Regions from separate parts of the Homo sapiens genome. Here all the other regions are linked to region 1. The links are contacts of gene promoters, found by promoter capture Hi-C in human tissues and cell types (Jung and others, 2019). All regions are on one chromosome and are shown on one strand. The core of a region is centred on a gene start or on the middle of the fragment in contact, and the rest is flanking DNA. Distances in the headings are between cores, read along the strand shown.

Region 1 (3,681 bases), core at 611-3,110:
ACCCCCACCTGCTCCGTGTTGGCCCCAGACCCAACTCAGGCCAGTGGACGTCTGTCCTAGGGCTGCGTGTGAGATCGGTGGGTGCAGGGAACACAGCAGGAAGCTGGCCTAGAAGAAGGGGGTCAGGGTCAGTGGAGATGCTCCTACCTTCAGGTAAATGCCCTCATTTGTTAGGGCCAGTTTGAGCGAGCTTTCTGTCATTTACCACCAAAAGAATCCTAGAAAATAAATACACAGGGATCTACCCCCAAACACTGGAGACAATAAAGAAAAAGGAAGCAGCCAGGGCCAGTAGCTGGAAGGAAATTCAGCCGGAGGAGAGGAGGCGCGGGGCTGTGGTGGGAGGGAGGCAATGCTTCCTGAATCTTACTTCCCTGGTCTTTCCATCGGCCTGAGCCCGTGCCAGTCTGGGGATCTGCCGGCCAGCCAGCACAACTGCGTCTCCCCCAGGGGCCTGACTCGTTGAAGGAATGAATGAATGAATGATTTTGCAGGGATGGGAGGCTGGGAGACTGAGAGGTTTCATTAAACGGAAACGCTCAGATCTGGTGTTTCACAACGTAAAACAAATAATTCCTCTATGTTAGCCTAATTTATGTAAATATTTCTCCACGGGAATTGTACCGGGAGACCTGTGTGCCAACTCGGCCAGCTTCCCCGGCAGAATCTCCCCTTGGGAGGACCCTTAAGCAGGACCCTTCCTAAAAATTGGAGGCAGCTCTGACTCCTCCATTCCTCCTACAAGGTTCCCCCACCCCCTAGGGCTTTCCACCGCATGAGAGTCCTCCGGGCCCCTCGTTTCCTACTGCCCTCGACCCTTCCTTCCCGAGACCTCTCTCTCTCAGTAAACTGCCTCCAACGAGAATCTTCTGACGGCAGGAGGGTCCTCCCCGTCCCTAAGGGTCGCCCTGTCCCCAGGCCTTCCAGCAGGACACTCCCCTGTCCCCTCTCCAGATCCTCCTTCCCAGGGCCCTCCTCCAAGATCCTCTTCCCCAACCCTCCTCTCCCAGGGTCCTCCCCTCTCCAGAATCCCGGCCCCAAGCCCCCAAGCGCTGTCTGCCTGTCTGGGGTCCTCCCCAGAGTTCACCTTCTGCAGGATCCTCCCTCCAAGTCCTCTCCTCACGATGCTCCCCCGAAATCCTCCTTCTCCAAGTCGTCCCCCACTCCAGGGCCGAGCTCTCTCCAGGGTCCTCCTGCAGCACCCCCTCCCCCAGGGTTCTCCTCTCTGCCCCGAGGGGCCGGCCGGGGGGTCGCCGCCCGCCCGGCGGGCTTACCTGCGAAGCGGCGGGGTCGGGGCCTCTCCCACCTGTAAGCCCGGCCCGCGGCGTCCTGCGTCCGAGCCGCTCCCCGCCCCGCAGCGCCAGGCCGCGACCCGGCGGGCCGCCCGCCCCGAAGTGCCACTTCGCGAAGTGCCGCCTCCACGCGCGCTGCCGCCGGCGCCCCCCGCTCTCCTCCCCGCACCTTCTGCTCCTTCTTCCTGCGCCACCCCGCCCCCGCCTCCCCGCCCCCAGCCCGGCTGTTGCCCGGGCCCCCTCAGGCTGCTCCCAGGGCCCCAGCCCGCGCCGCGCCTCCCCTCTCCTCCCCCAGGATCGACGCCGCCGCAGACCAATCGCTGCCTGGAGTCGGCCACTAGGCCCCACCTCCGATCCCGCCCCCCTCCCCCTTCTCCGGAACCCACCAATGGAAAGGGCGGTGCGGGGGCGGGGCCTGGCGGTTGCCTAGCAGCGGCAGCGCCGGGCGGGGGCGGGTGGTCGGGGGCGGTGATGCGGGCGCAACGGGGGCGGGACGCAGGGGCGGGGACTGCCGCGGGGCGGGGCCTGAGGCGGCTATAAAGGTGGCCGCCGCCGGACGCCGGGCTCTGTGGTTCGGGTCCGCTTTCGTCTCCGTCCTGCTGCCGTTACCGCCGCTGCTGCCGCCGCTTGCGTCCCCCGCTCCGGTCTGTGGTGCAGCCGGGACCCAGGACCATGTCTCTGTCTCGCTCAGAGGAGATGCACCGGCTCACGGAAAATGTCTATAAGGTGAGCGCCCCCCGGCGCCGAGCTGAGCCCGCTCCGTGTGCGCCTGGGTCGCGCGCCGCCCGCGCGCCCGAGCCCGACCAGGGCGGCCCCGGGGCCGCGCGCCGGGCCAGGAGGCTGGGACTTTGGGGGTCTTCCCGGCGCGGCCACCCGGGACCCGGGCTGCTGGGGTGGTGAGCCCGGCGCCGGCCGCTCACAGGTGGCCACCCCCGCCCGGGCCCCCCCATCCCATGCGCGCCGCGGCCCGGTCAGTCCCCAGCCCCAGGCCCGGGGAGCACTCCCCGCTCCGACGGCCCTGCTCGGCCCCCGCGCGCTCGCCTTGGCGTCGGCGGGAACGGAGCCGCGCGCCGGGCCCCGGAAGCCCTCGGACCGGTCGGGGTCGTAGCACACCCGGGCAGGGCCGGGGCGGCGGGGGCGGCGGGCCCAGGGGTTGCGGCGGCCAGGACGGCATGGGGGCTGTCTGAAGGCCGCGGTCGGCGCGGTGGCACCGTGGGGCTCCTCCAGGCGCGGTTGCGCGAGCCTCGGGCACTTCATTCTCAACAGGCTTTCCCTTCCCACAACTCCTGCCCGGCGCCCATGCTGGGGCCTAAGGTGGGAGGTCGGAGCGCGGGCAGGCTGGATGGGTGGACGGATAATCTATCATCTTATGTAACCGCGGAGAGAGAAGACTAATTGTGTAGGAGGCTGACGTGCCTGCCTTTGCTTCAGATGTGTTAAGAGTGGCATCCACGTTCTCGTCTGCGAAATGACAGGTTCACATCCAAGGGCCGCAGAGCACCGCTGGAAGCCTCCCCTGCCGCCCCCTCCCCAGTCGTTTTTGTGGCTGGGATACCGACAAACAGGCCCTTGGTTTTCTCTTTCTTCAGCATCCGTTCTCGGTCCAGACCCCCACGCCTGAGCCCGGCAGCTGCCGGGGAGCATTTTCTCAGAGGAGAAACCCCTGCTCTGGGTGTCCCTGGGTCCTGGGCGATCTCTTACAGATGTGCTTTGTTTCAAAACTGTCTGCAGGTTCAGTGACAGGCTGGGCGATGAGTGGAGTGGGTATTTACCCGGCAGTCGCTGGTTCATGTTTCCTAACCGGCTTGCACCCTGCCCGGCAGAGTAACTGTTTCTGATTGTGGTAGGCGGCCAAGGCGTGCCTGGCCAGGGGCCTGGGAAGCCCTCTTAGCTCTCAGGCTTGGGAGAGCCAGATGGAGGCTTCAGGGGTGGCCCCTCTGGTTCCAGCTGGAGTGCAGGGGGCCGATTGCACTTGAATACAGCTTTCAATAAAGCTTGTGAAGTTGGGGCCGCGTCAGTCTGGAAGGTTTCTGAAGGCGGGTGTGCGGTCGACTAGATGAGTCCTAAAGCCACGTCGGAGCCACTGGGAAACAGGATTCAGGGTGACCTGAGGAGTCGGCTTGGGAAAGGCACAGGCCCTGGGGTTGTTAGGTTTGGTTTCACAGAGTCTGTGGCATACGGTTCTGGCCTTGTTGCTCTGTGGAAGCACATGTTGTCAAGGGAGGGAGGTTTATTAAATTATTAGTCATTAGCTCCATTACGACTTGTTTGTGATTGCAGAGGGTGGAAGAGAAGTACCAGCGGAACCTTTTTCCTATTTTTTCTCCTTCTGCGCTGAAACCAGAAAGCAGGAACTTTCGTGGTGAGAGTTGGCAGGGGGTGAGTACAT
Region 2 (3,681 bases), core at 881-3,380, 770 kb before region 1:
GGCTGTAGGTAAATTTAAACATTTTCTGGTTTACAATTGGTTGAGTTTATCTAAAGACCTGGGATTAATAGTAAGGAAATGTTCAGGTTAAGATAGAACACCGTGCTGAGCAGCACTCCGGCCCAGCACTATTACGTGGGCAAGAGGCAAAGCTCCAAGGGCTTAGTGTACCTGCTGCAGCAGCTGGTAGGGGCAGACTGTGATCACAGAGACAGCACTGTCCCGCAGAAAAATCATGCAAGCCACCAACGTGAGCCATGCAAGTCATTTAAACATTTCGACTAGTCATACTGAAAAAGTCAAAAGAAACAGTTGAAATTAACTGTTTAGAGACAAAGTCTCACTCTGTCGCCAGGGCTGGAGTGCAGTGGTGCAGTCAAGATTGGTGGGAGGAAAAAGCAGGTTTTAATTGGAGACCCAGCAAAGCGAGAAGATGCCCAACTAGCGTTCTAAAGTGTCACCTTGGCTGGGCGCAGTGGCTCATGCCTGTAATTCCAGCACTTTGGGAGGCCAAGGCAGGTGGATCACCTGAGGTCAGGAGTTTGAGACCACCCTGGCCAACATGGAGAAACCCCGTCTCTACTAAAAATACAAAAATTAGCCAGGCTTGGTGGCGGGCGCTTGTAATCCCAGCTACTCGGGAGGCTGAGGCATGAGAATCACTTGAACTGGGAGGTGGAGTTTGCAGTGAGCCAAGATCACGCCACTGCACTCCAGCCTGGGGTATAGAGTGAGACTGTCTCCAAAAAACAAACAAACAATAAATAAAGTGCCACCCTAAAATTAAAAATTTATCCTCAGGTTTTGTGTGTTTGTTAGTTTTTGAGGCAAGATCTCACTTTGTCATCCAGGCTGGAGTGCAGTGGTATGATCACGACTCACTGCAGCCTGGAGCTCCCTGGGCTCAAACGATCCTCTTGCCTCAGCCTCTTCAGGTGCACCACCACGCCCAGCTAATTTTTTTAAATGATTTTTTTTGTAGAGATGGGGTCTCTCTATGTTGCCCAGGCTGCCATCGAGTTCTTCTAGGGAAACTTGCCGTGGGCACCGTGGGGAGTGGGGTAAGGGCAGGGTCTGTGTCTTGTTCCCATGGCTGTCGTGGGCAGTTGTCGGTTAGGAGGGGTGGCTGTCGAGGATGTTGGACTAATTGTTGGCGACCCCCCGCCCCAAGCAGGAGCATTCAGCTGGGGTTCCGCGCCGGGAATTGTTTCAGGATGAGGGTCCCCTCTGGAATGCGCAGAGGGGCGCAGTGTCCAGAGAGGGACGGGATGAAGGGGTGAGAGGAGAAGGAAGAAAAAGAAAGTGGGTGATTTTAAAACGGAGGTCCCTGGTCACACCATGAGCCTCACAGATGGGAAAACTGAGGCACGGGGGATGGTGCGGACCGCCGTGGCCCCTCCATCATCAGTGACAGAGCGCTCCGCGCGGGGCCGCGGAGGTCCCTTAATCTGCAAAGGCCCCCACGCGGCGCGCTGACGACGTCCACTGCACCCGCCGGGCGCCCTCTGGGCCGCTCCCAGGCTGGCCGCCGGCTCTGCGCGGCCGCAGACACTGTCCGAGGTGCTGGGCGCCGGGGCGGGGGGCGCGCCTGTCCCGCCCCACTCGGCTGCTCGGGCCTGCCCGGGGTCTGGGCTTCCGGGAGACCCGCATGCGCCCCACGCCTGGCGGGAACCGAGGCCCCTCCCGCGTCTGTACCCGGCGCGCAGCGGCCCGAGGCGCCTCCCGGGGGCTGGGGGCCCGGAGTCACTGGGAGGCGCCACCGGCGGGGAATTCCGCACACGCCTGCGCGGGGCCGGCGGCGGCGGCGGGCAGGGCGGGGCCGGCGGCGGCGGCGGCGGGCAGGGCGGGGCCGGCGGCGGCGGCGGCGGGCAGGGCGGGGCCGGCGGCGGCGGCGGCGGGCAGGGCGGGGCCGGCGGCGGCGGCGGCGGGCAGGGCGGGGCCGGCGGCGGCGGCGGCGGGCAGGGCGGGGCCGGCGGCGGCGGCGGCGGGCAGGGCGGGGCCGGCGGCGGCGGCGGCGGGCAGGGCGGGGCCGGCGGCGGCGGCGGCGGGCAGGGCGGGGCCGGCGGCGGCGGCGGCGGGCAGGGCGGGGCCGGCGGCGGCGGCGGCGGGCAGGGCGGGGCCCAGGGCCCCGTGACCCGAGGGGCGACAGCGCGCGGCAGGCGGCGAGCTCGGGGGCCGCAGGTGCGAGCGGGCCTGGAGAGTCTCCCGGGGCGGGGAGCGGGCTAGGATACAGTGGGCCCCGCGGGCCGGCGGGCCGGGTCCCGGGGAGCGGCGCCTGCGTCCGGATGCCCCTCCCGGCCGCCTCTTCCTGCCGGCTCCAAGTTTCGGTTTCGCCGCCGGGGTGCCCGGTCCAGCCCCGCCCGCGGCGCCCACTGACCCTGTTCCCCGGCTGCGGGAGGGGTCGGGGTGGGGGCAGCGGGCACGCCTGGGACCCCGGCGACATCCCCGGAGCGCAGAGCGCGGAGGAGGCTTTGCGCCCCGGCAGTGCTGCCCCCGGGAAGTGGCCGGGGCACGGGGGGTGTAGTGGAAGGGGACAGCCGGACCCGGGCCTGCAGGTCCGCCCGGGAATCCTGCGCCTGTACGAATGGCAACAACGGAAAAGTGAAGTTGCAAAAACAGACTCCTAACTTTTACGAGGGAGGCATCGCCCCGTCTGAACCGCACCGCGCAGCGTCCTTCCGACTTGGCGAAGTCGCCCGAGCGCGGGGCTCAAGGCCAGGGTGGGCACCCCTCCCGGATGGCTGCCTGCAAGCCGGCGGGCCGGGCCCTGGGGGAGTCCAGGGCGGGAGGGGAAGGAGCTGTGCAAACATGGTGGTGGCCCTTCCCTGCCCCCACCTTGTTGACTTTGGTTGTGGTTGGGGGATGGGCTTTGATTTGGGTGGCAGTGTCTGTGCTTGGGAAAAAATGTCAGAGAAAAGACAGGAAGCGGATTGAATGCAACAGTGTTGGGTGCCTGGGGCTCTCTCTTGTGTCTTCCGGCCCCTAGAGCAGATGGAACAATAAGATGCTTTAGGGGGCCGGGCGCAGTGGCTAATGCCTGTAATCCCAAAACTTTGGGAGGCCAAGGCGGGTGGGTCACCTGAGGTCGGGAGTTCGAGACCAGCCTGGCCAACATGAAACCCCGTTTCTACTAAAAACACAAAAAATTAGCCGGGTGTGGTGGCGCATGCCTGTAACTCCACCTACTTGGGAGACTGAGGCGGGAGAATCGCTAGAGCCCGGGAGGCGGAGGTTGCAGTGAGCTGAGATTGCCCACTGTACTCCAGCCTGGGTGAAACTGTCAAACAAACAAAAAATGCTTTTTGGAGGATTTTTCGAGTTTTCTGGTCTGTGGTTCCCCAGTGTAGCATTGGAGAAGGAAACACTTCGGGTGGAAAGAAAGAGGCCTGGGCGGTGGGGAGTCATTGAAGGTGTTTGAGGGAGGGAGTGTCCACTGGTGGTTGTTTCAGGTAGAGTGTGGAGGGGAGGAGGTACGGTGGGAGCCAGGGCTTGGCTGTGGCAGGGGTAGGGGAGTTTTAAACTCTCCTTCTACTCTGAAGGAGAGATAATTTTAGTCTCTGGAATAAAAGGGCAGCAGACCTGGAGAAAAGGGATGCAAATTGTCCCATACACCTATTGGGAACCTCATCAAAGAGAAGACTGCAGAAGACAGATGATTGATGTTTTTATGGCATTGGGACA
Region 3 (3,681 bases), core at 594-3,093, 660 kb before region 1:
ACAGGTAAGAACAACATGGAGACTTGCTTCTGGAAAGCCCTGGCTTTTTCTCTTCATCGCAGCGTTTTGTTACCAAGTCTTCTTGTCGTGACTAGTAGCTAGTACATGATCTTGGGGAGCTTTTTCGGTGAGACACAGCCTGGTTACTTGTACTGGTTGTGTATTCTGACATTTTCACATATAGGCACATGAGTTTAGTATTCCCACAAGCACACGCATCTAGCAAGAAGCCAACAGTGCCGTGAAGGGACCACAGTGGCGTGAGGGACATGGAACTCAAGAGGCCAGAATCTGTGGTGCTGAGCCTGGTTCCACAGCAGCGCAACTTTCTGATTTTTCAGATGGTAGCTTAGAATCCTGCTCACCCTGAATGTCCTAGATGTCTCCTAAGTTTCTATTCCCCTGAACATGGGCTCTATTTCCTTGGAAAGGATGTTGACATCCAAGAATAGTATCACCTGTGGTACTTGTATGGATCTAATATTGCAGTTCTCAAAGTGTTGGTATGGACCCTTGGGTGTGAGGTAGGTCTCTGAGGTTAAAACTATTTTAAAAATTAGATTACTAAGATAAATTTGCCCTTTTTTAAAAAACATGTTGATACTTATGATGATGTTACAAAAAGCGGTGATGAGTTAAACTGCTGGCCCCTCACGTGAAGACACAGTAGCTGGAGGTATTGTTTTCTTCACCGCCATGCACACGTGGTTTTCTTCATGCCAGTTTCATTTTAGTTTTACTAAATCTTGACTCTTGAGGATTTGACTTTTCAACGTTTTGTGGAAATGGGAAGCACACACAAAACACTCCCACTACACACCGGAGTAGACAGTTGCCTCACAGAAAATCACTCATGACAAGCCCTGGGTTATCAGCCGGCTGCTGTGTTCATGGACCGCCACCCGTGCTGGGAGGAAGGATGCACATGATACAGGTGTCCAGGGCTGGGCAGGCCTCTCCTGGAAATCAGCAAAGTGAGCCAGCCTCAGCCAAACAACTGACAATGTTGGTTGGTGATGATAACATTCAAGCTTTTAAGCTGAAATTAAAATTTTGAAAAGCTTATATTCTCCACTATGAGCTTGTGAGCTTTTGAATACTTAAAGACATTTTGGGGCAATTTGTGGTGATATTAATGAATATGGATTTTTTTTTTTAAAACGTAGAATACAAATGTGTCAACCTTTACAAGACCTGCACAGCCCAGTGAACCAATATTTTCCAAATGACCAATGCCTGATGTCATGAAATCATGTGGGTCAAAAAAGAAAAAAATCTATTTAAAGTATGGGCAGACCTTTTTGATTTTAACATAATTGACTGAAAAATGCACTGATACAGTTTCAGGCTCCACATTGCAACTAACCTCTAGACATGACCATTTATCACTGTGGGCACAGCATTAAGGAATAATAGCCACAATCAGCTGCAAAAACTATTAAAATGTTCCTCGCTATTCCGAGTATATGAGGACAGATTTTCTTCATGTTCTCCCATATGCTGCAGCGATGGGGAGCAGGGCAGGCAGGCCGCTGACTTCCAGGAGCCAGGCCCCAGGGCCAGCACAGGAATGGAAGACCAAACCACTCTTCTCACGGATTCATGTTTTGGAAAATATTTTAAATGTTATTTAACATGTAATAGCTTTATTGTTATTTTAAATGAATGTATATTTTTGAAACCTTTTGTTTTTAATGTCTCATAATTCCTAATATCATAAATATTGATAATATAACCCACATAAAAGCTCTTCGGGGTTCTCAATTTTTAAGACTATAAAGGGGTCCTGAAACCAAAGTTTGAGGACAGCTGGTCTAAAATGTGAGTTTTATATTCCTCCAGTATTATGCTAAAAGGTTTTCCATAAAATCTTAGAAACCACGTATATGTATGTATATGTTTATACACACACACACACAGGACAGACGACCGATAGATAGATGCTCTTTTTTTTAGTAAGGTATGTCTCCAGATCTGAGAGAACCAGGAATAATATTTCTCTTTCTGCAGCTTTCATGATGTAAAAGATTATATTCAGGAATATTTGACCCTGTTAAAAAAGAAAGCATTCATAACTGAAGATAAAACTGAACTGTACATGCTCTTCATCAACTGCCTGGAGGTAAGTGAACTCTCTCTTCCCTGAATTTCTTTTGGAAACTATCTGAACCACATGGTTTAAAATTTACAGAATATAATTTTAGTCAGTATAATTAACGAATGCTCTGTTCCGTGCAGAAAAGAAGAAAGGTTTCAAAGACGCGGCTTCTGCCTTCAGCAACGTATATTTTGGCATTTACTTGCATATACATACAAAACAGAACAGCCTAGGAGAATATACTGCCAAAGTTAACAGTGGTTATCATTGAGTGGGGACATTATGGATACTTTTTATCTTCATATTTTTATATCCAAAATTTTTATAATGTAAATAAATTAGATAATTTTTTTTCCTCATAGGTTCACTTTTCCCCTCCTTCTTGTCCTTAAAATAAAAAGGAATGTTAGGTTTCCATAAGTCAAGAAATTTACACTGAAACCTACAGTAACATTCTTCTATCCTTCCTTCTCCACAGTCACATTGGCGACTGTAGAAGCTTGGGGCATCCATGTTTAAAAAAATAATATCCTTTTCTTTCTTGTTCCTTGTTCCTCAGGATTCAATACTTGAGAAGACCAGTGCTTACTCCAGAAATGATGAACTGAACCACCTAGAAGAGGAAGGTCGTTTCCTTAAGGCATATTCTCCAGCAAGCCGGGGCCGAGAGCCTGCCAACGAGGCCTCGGTTGAATACCTGCAAGAGGTGGCCCGGATCCGCCTCTGCCTCGACAGAGCTGCAGATTTCCTCTCGGAGCCTGAGGGAGGCCCAGGCAAGTCTTCTCTGCCTTGCTTTCCTTTGGGTTTAAAGACTCCGTTATTTAGAAATTCAGGAAGTATGGGAAACTAGTTCTTCGAATAGACTACTACTGGGCTTTTCTACATCCCCTCTCCCCTGGATGTGTTTCTGTGAATGCCTGTGGGTAGGTCCGATGCCCTCTGGTTGGCCTTGTGTCCTACAATAAATGCCCTAAGTCACCAGCCACTCACCCGCTTTCTCGTTGGCCTCTCAGAGATGGCCAAGGAGAAGCAGTGCTACCTGCAGCAAGTCAAGCAGTTCTGTATCCGGGTGGAGAACGACTGGCACCGGGTGTACCTGGTGCGGAAGCTCAGCAGCCAGCGGGGGATGGAGTTCGTGCAGGGCCTCTCCAAGCCCGGCCGCCCGCACCAGTGGGTGTTTCCCAAGGACGTTGTCAAGCAGCAGGTGAGAAGCGGGGCCGGGCAGCACACAAACATGCACCCCCACAGCCCCATACACCCCAAACCCACACACCCCCCTACCCTCACACCCTACCCCCCCCACACCCCACCCCCTCACACCTTCCCCACCACATACCCTCATACCCCCACACCTCACCCTCACACCCCCACACCTCACCCTCACACCCAGGGATGGTGCCACTGCTTCCGCGTTCCGCCTGCCCTTAGCATCCCCAGAGCCAGGAAGGAAACCTGCCGCTTGTCTGTCTGGTCCTTTGTCTCTGTGCTTCAGCTGATTTGCCCCAGCTTGTGATCATGTTTACACTGCCTGCTGTAGGGCCAAGGTGAGGGCACTCACCTCAGAGCTTCTTTAATTAGGCATC
Region 4 (3,681 bases), core at 442-2,941, 560 kb before region 1:
GAAACCTCAGGGATTTGAAAGATGCCAGGACTTGGGTCACTCAGAAAAGAAAACCTCAGGGTAGGGGTTCAGGACAGAAGTGGGGAGGAGCTGGAGATCCTGAGAGGACACCGGGGGCATGGCAGCCGGGAAGAAACCTGCTTAACAGCCTCAGCGGCCCGGGGAACGAGAGCGCCCAGCCCCAGCCTGCACCCAGCTGTACGCTGAGGCTGGGGACCAGGGAGAGACAGGCTTTCTTAAGCAGGGAGGGTTTGAGCCAGCGACAGCCACTGTGCAAAGTTACTGAGGATTAAACAAATCAGACTTGAAAAATCCAGCGAGTGTGTGAGTGTGTCTGGATGGGGGAGGGGGCACTATGCAATCCCCTTTCCCAGAGACAGCCCCAGCCCAAGGCACCCAGCCCTGATAGAAACACCGACTAGAAGCCCAGAACCTGGGAAGGGGTGCGGGGAATGAGAAAGCGGTGCAGGGGTTGGGGGTAGCGGAGCGGCTTGAGGCTTGCACAGTGCAGAGCTGGGCTGTTAGGGATCGGGACCGAGGCAGGGTCGGGCAAGCAGGTGCAGGCAGGCAGCACGGCTCCCCCTGGCCCCAGTACCTTTCTCGAGCTCGCTGATCCGCTGGTGCAGGGAGGTCAGGGCGGTCTCGATCTTGACCCTCTCCTCGGTGTCGTTCCTGGGGCCCCCCTTGCCCTCCTCCAGGGTGTTCACCCGGGACAGCACCTGCCTCTCCAGCTCATCGATCTTGCTCTGCAGCAGATCCTTGAGGCTGTTGGTCTGGCTGGAGGAATTGAGGCGGCTGTACTGCTGCGGGGTGCAAGGGCGGGGGAAACCACACCGTTAGGCGAGGCGCGGGGACCGTGCTGGAAGGCCCGCGGCGCGGTCCCCTCTGGGCGACTGCGGGGGCGGCCTGGCAGGGAGCTGGGGCGAGTGGCCGCCGCGGGGCCTCGCAGGCGCGGGGAGGCACCGGCCGGGCACCCGCGCGGCTGAGGCGAGGGCGGGGGATGCCTGGCCGGGTAGGGAACGGGGTGGGGGAGGGCAGAGGGGCGAGCGAGCCGGAGGGGGAACCGGAGCCGAGGGCGCGCGCGGACCTCGAGGTTCTCCAGGCGGGTTTTGAGCGATTGCAAAGTTTGCCCGAGTTGGCTGAGCGTCTCGGCGGCCGGTGTCCGGGACAGGTCGCCCATGGTGTTCTTGCCCGAGCCGGGCTGCTTGCGGCCGCCGCCCGCCCGGGCCTCGCCGGCTCCGGGGTCCAGCGTGCTCTGGCTCTCGCAGCGGCCCAGCTTGGCGGTCAGCTCGCGGATGGTCTCCTTCTGGCTCAGGATGGTCTCCTTCTGCTGCAGCACCGTCTCGCGGAGCTGCAGCACGCTGCTCCGGAGCTCCTCGGCGCCGCCGGCGGCCACGGACGCGGCGCACATGTCGGCGTCCACGGGCACCGAGGTGCAGATGAAGCGCGTCGGCCCGAAATCCTGGGCCCCGGCGCCCAGGAGGCAGAGGGCGAGCAGCGCACAGGTGCGCGCGGCGCGGCCGGCCGGCATGGCTGCGGGCACCGGGCGCTCCGGGCCCGGCTCGGCTCGGCTGGGGCTCGGCTCCGGCTGGGACCCGGCTCGGGCTGTGGCTCCGCGAGCGGCCCGCGCTCTGGGCGCCGCGCTCTTCGGCCGCGCGGTCCACACCGCCGCGCTATCAGGCCCCCACTGCCGCCTGCGCTGCGGAGCCCGCGCCTTTTATGCCGCCGCGGGAGGGGCCTCGAGCCGCCGACGTCAGCGGGGGAGGAATCCCGCTTTAATTGTCCGCGGCCCGGGCCCGCGGCGCGGCGGGGGTCTCACGAGCGCGCCACCGGGGCTGCCTCCGCTCGCGTCCCCCCCGCCCTTCTGGGAGCTGCCGCGGCCCCCTCCTCCCCCGCCCCCGCCTGGGCCGGCGCTGCTGCCCCGAAGGCTCCGAGAGCTCAGGGGGAAGGAAGTCGGGCTCCGGCCCCGGACTCGAGGATGGACCACCTGCGTGGTGTCCCCGAACCTCCGACGGGGCTCCAGGCGGGCGGGAAACCACCGCGTCCGGGAGATAGAATTCGGTTCGGCCCTCCTGGCTGCACTGAACACCCTTGGGCCGGGGTCGTTTGGAGCCGGGCTGGGTGCCCAAGGACCCAGGTCGTCAACACCCGAGTGCCCGGTGGTCAACGGCTCGGAGTGGGGCCTCGCGGCGCCACTAAGTCCAGAGCGGGGGTCACCGGGCCGCCCCGCGTTTCTTAGATGTCCGTGTGCTATTGAGAAGCCGCCGGGCAGCCTGGGTACAGGGACTTCCCACGGGTCGGGGCCCCCGGCGCCTCCCCTCCCCCAGCTCCCGGGCTCTGTGGACCCGGCCCCGTCCCCGGGGGACTGTCAGTCCCCACCCCGTGCGGGCGGGGCGCTGGGGACTTCTCGGAGGCAGACCTAGCTGATCGAGCCTTTCCTGTCCGCGGCGCCGGCCCGATCGCGGGCAGGCGGCGTCGCCGGGGCTGGACGTTCGCAGCGGCGCTTCGGAAGGGGGCCCCGCGGGAGCAGCCGCCCGCGTCTCCAGCAGCTTCCCCTTGCCAGGCGCCGCGCGCGCCCGGTATCCCCGGGTGTCCACCTGTGCGTGGGGGGCTGTTTCCCGTCTGTCCAGCCGCGCCCACTTCTCAGGCCCAAAGGCCAGCAGGAAGGGTCCCGGAGGTGGCTGGGGGCGTCCACCTGAGAAGCTCCGCTCTCGCTCAGACACCCCACCCGGCACCCGCGCACTCGCGCCTTCATCTGGACCGCGGGGCTCGGCTCCCGAGATCGCGGTCCGGGTTCCGGCGCCGGGCTGGGGGCTCAGGACCAGGGCTGGCGCAGCCGCCCCGCCCCGCCCCGCCCCGGGGCTATCAGAGCGGTCAAAGCCTCGGAAATCCCTCCGTCCACGCTCCCGTGGTACAGAGAAGGAAACTGAGGCTCCGAGACTGCGGGGCCGGGCTACAGCCGTGGCCCCCCGACCCCTCCCCGCCGCCCCCGGCTTCTCTGGTCTCTGCGTTCTGCAGCCTTTCCCTGCGCGCAGCCGGGGGCTGGGGGTCCCCAGCCAGCAGGGACCCACGGGCAGTCCCGGGTGCCGGGATCGGGCGTCCGCCCCTCGGGCGGGAGCAGAGGCCGGCTCGATGGAGACCTTTTTGAGAAATGGCGGCCTCTACCCGCCCCCCAGCCCCCGAGCGCCCGCCGTCTGCGTTCAGCATCTCAGCTTTTAAGCCTCCCTGAGCCGGGGCTGCGTTCTCGTTGTCTCCTTCGGCCGCCGCTTCCTGGCGCCAGAGGGACCCCGCGGCCCGCACGGGCCTGTCCTCGGCTCCGCTCGGAGGGTGTGCGGGTTCCCGCTCCGCTGGCCCCGCTTGCCCACCACGGCGCGCCCAAACCCACGCGGCCCGCGGCCCCTTGCGTGCTCTGCCGACCCCGGGCCGCAGGAGGGGTTAGCCTCGCCGGTCCCCACGCGGGGTCTGCGCCGGCAGCGCCACGGGCTGGAACGCGCCTCGGGAGAAATTACCCGCGCGGGGTCGCGGCGTCTTCTGCCCCAACTCCCGTAGGGAGCCGCTAGGCGGGTGCCCTCCTGGCCCCAGCGCTTTGGCCTCGCCGCCCTCCCGCACGCGTCCAGTGGGGAGGCCGCGCCCGTCAGGCCTGGAGCCGGACCGTGCCCAGCCGAGAGCGCGCGGGCGCGG

Evidence for each region. Contacts are between HindIII fragments. The study calls those that stand out against the background at their distance.
Region 2: a contact is called between the fragment with the promoter of RNF213 here and the fragment with the promoter of BAIAP2 in region 1, in 1 of the 25 tissues and cell types used here (liver).
Region 3: a fragment that was not itself captured here is called in contact with the fragment with the promoter of BAIAP2 in region 1 in 2 of the 25 tissues and cell types used here (dorsolateral prefrontal cortex and lymphoblastoid cells).
Region 4: the fragment with the promoter of NPTX1 here is called in contact with the fragment with the promoter of BAIAP2 in region 1 in 3 of the 25 tissues and cell types used here (dorsolateral prefrontal cortex, lymphoblastoid cells and spleen).

What each region holds. Positions count from the first base shown.
Region 1 is chr17:81,033,291-81,036,971 of GRCh38, forward strand. It overlaps BAIAP2 (BAR/IMD domain containing adaptor protein 2), which reads left to right and starts at 1,861. Exons shown (of 14, transcript NM_001144888.2): 1 at 1,861-2,018. The coding sequence starts at 1,965. It overlaps BAIAP2-DT (BAIAP2 divergent transcript), which reads right to left and starts at 1,429. Exons shown (of 2, transcript NR_026857.1): 1 at 1,275-1,429; 2 at 1-108. RefSeq lists a silencer at 1,497-1,806 and an enhancer at 1,678-2,673. The HindIII fragment of the contact is 14,233 bases long and covers 1-3,681 here.
Region 2 is chr17:80,258,722-80,262,402 of GRCh38, forward strand. RNF213 (ring finger protein 213) reads left to right here and starts at 2,131. Exons shown (of 68, transcript NM_001256071.3): 1 at 2,131-2,181. RefSeq lists silencers at 1,510-1,859, 2,139-2,488, 2,869-3,008. The HindIII fragment of the contact is 8,363 bases long and covers 1-3,681 here.
Region 3 is chr17:80,369,864-80,373,544 of GRCh38, forward strand. RNF213 (ring finger protein 213) reads left to right here. Exons shown (of 68, transcript NM_001256071.3): 46 at 1-4; 47 at 2,011-2,122; 48 at 2,658-2,871; 49 at 3,112-3,302. All of the region lies in intron 1 of RNF213-AS1 (RNF213 antisense RNA 1), which reads right to left. Among named protein-coding and RNA genes, the nearest start is that of ENDOV, 43 kb to the right of the region's middle. RefSeq lists an enhancer at 1,905-3,104. The HindIII fragment of the contact is 5,086 bases long and covers 1-3,681 here.
Region 4 is chr17:80,474,916-80,478,596 of GRCh38, forward strand. It overlaps NPTX1 (neuronal pentraxin 1), which reads right to left and starts at 1,692. Exons shown (of 5, transcript NM_002522.4): 1 at 1,088-1,692; 2 at 596-803. The coding sequence starts at 1,531. RefSeq lists an enhancer at 146-679. The HindIII fragment of the contact is 30,247 bases long and covers 1-3,681 here.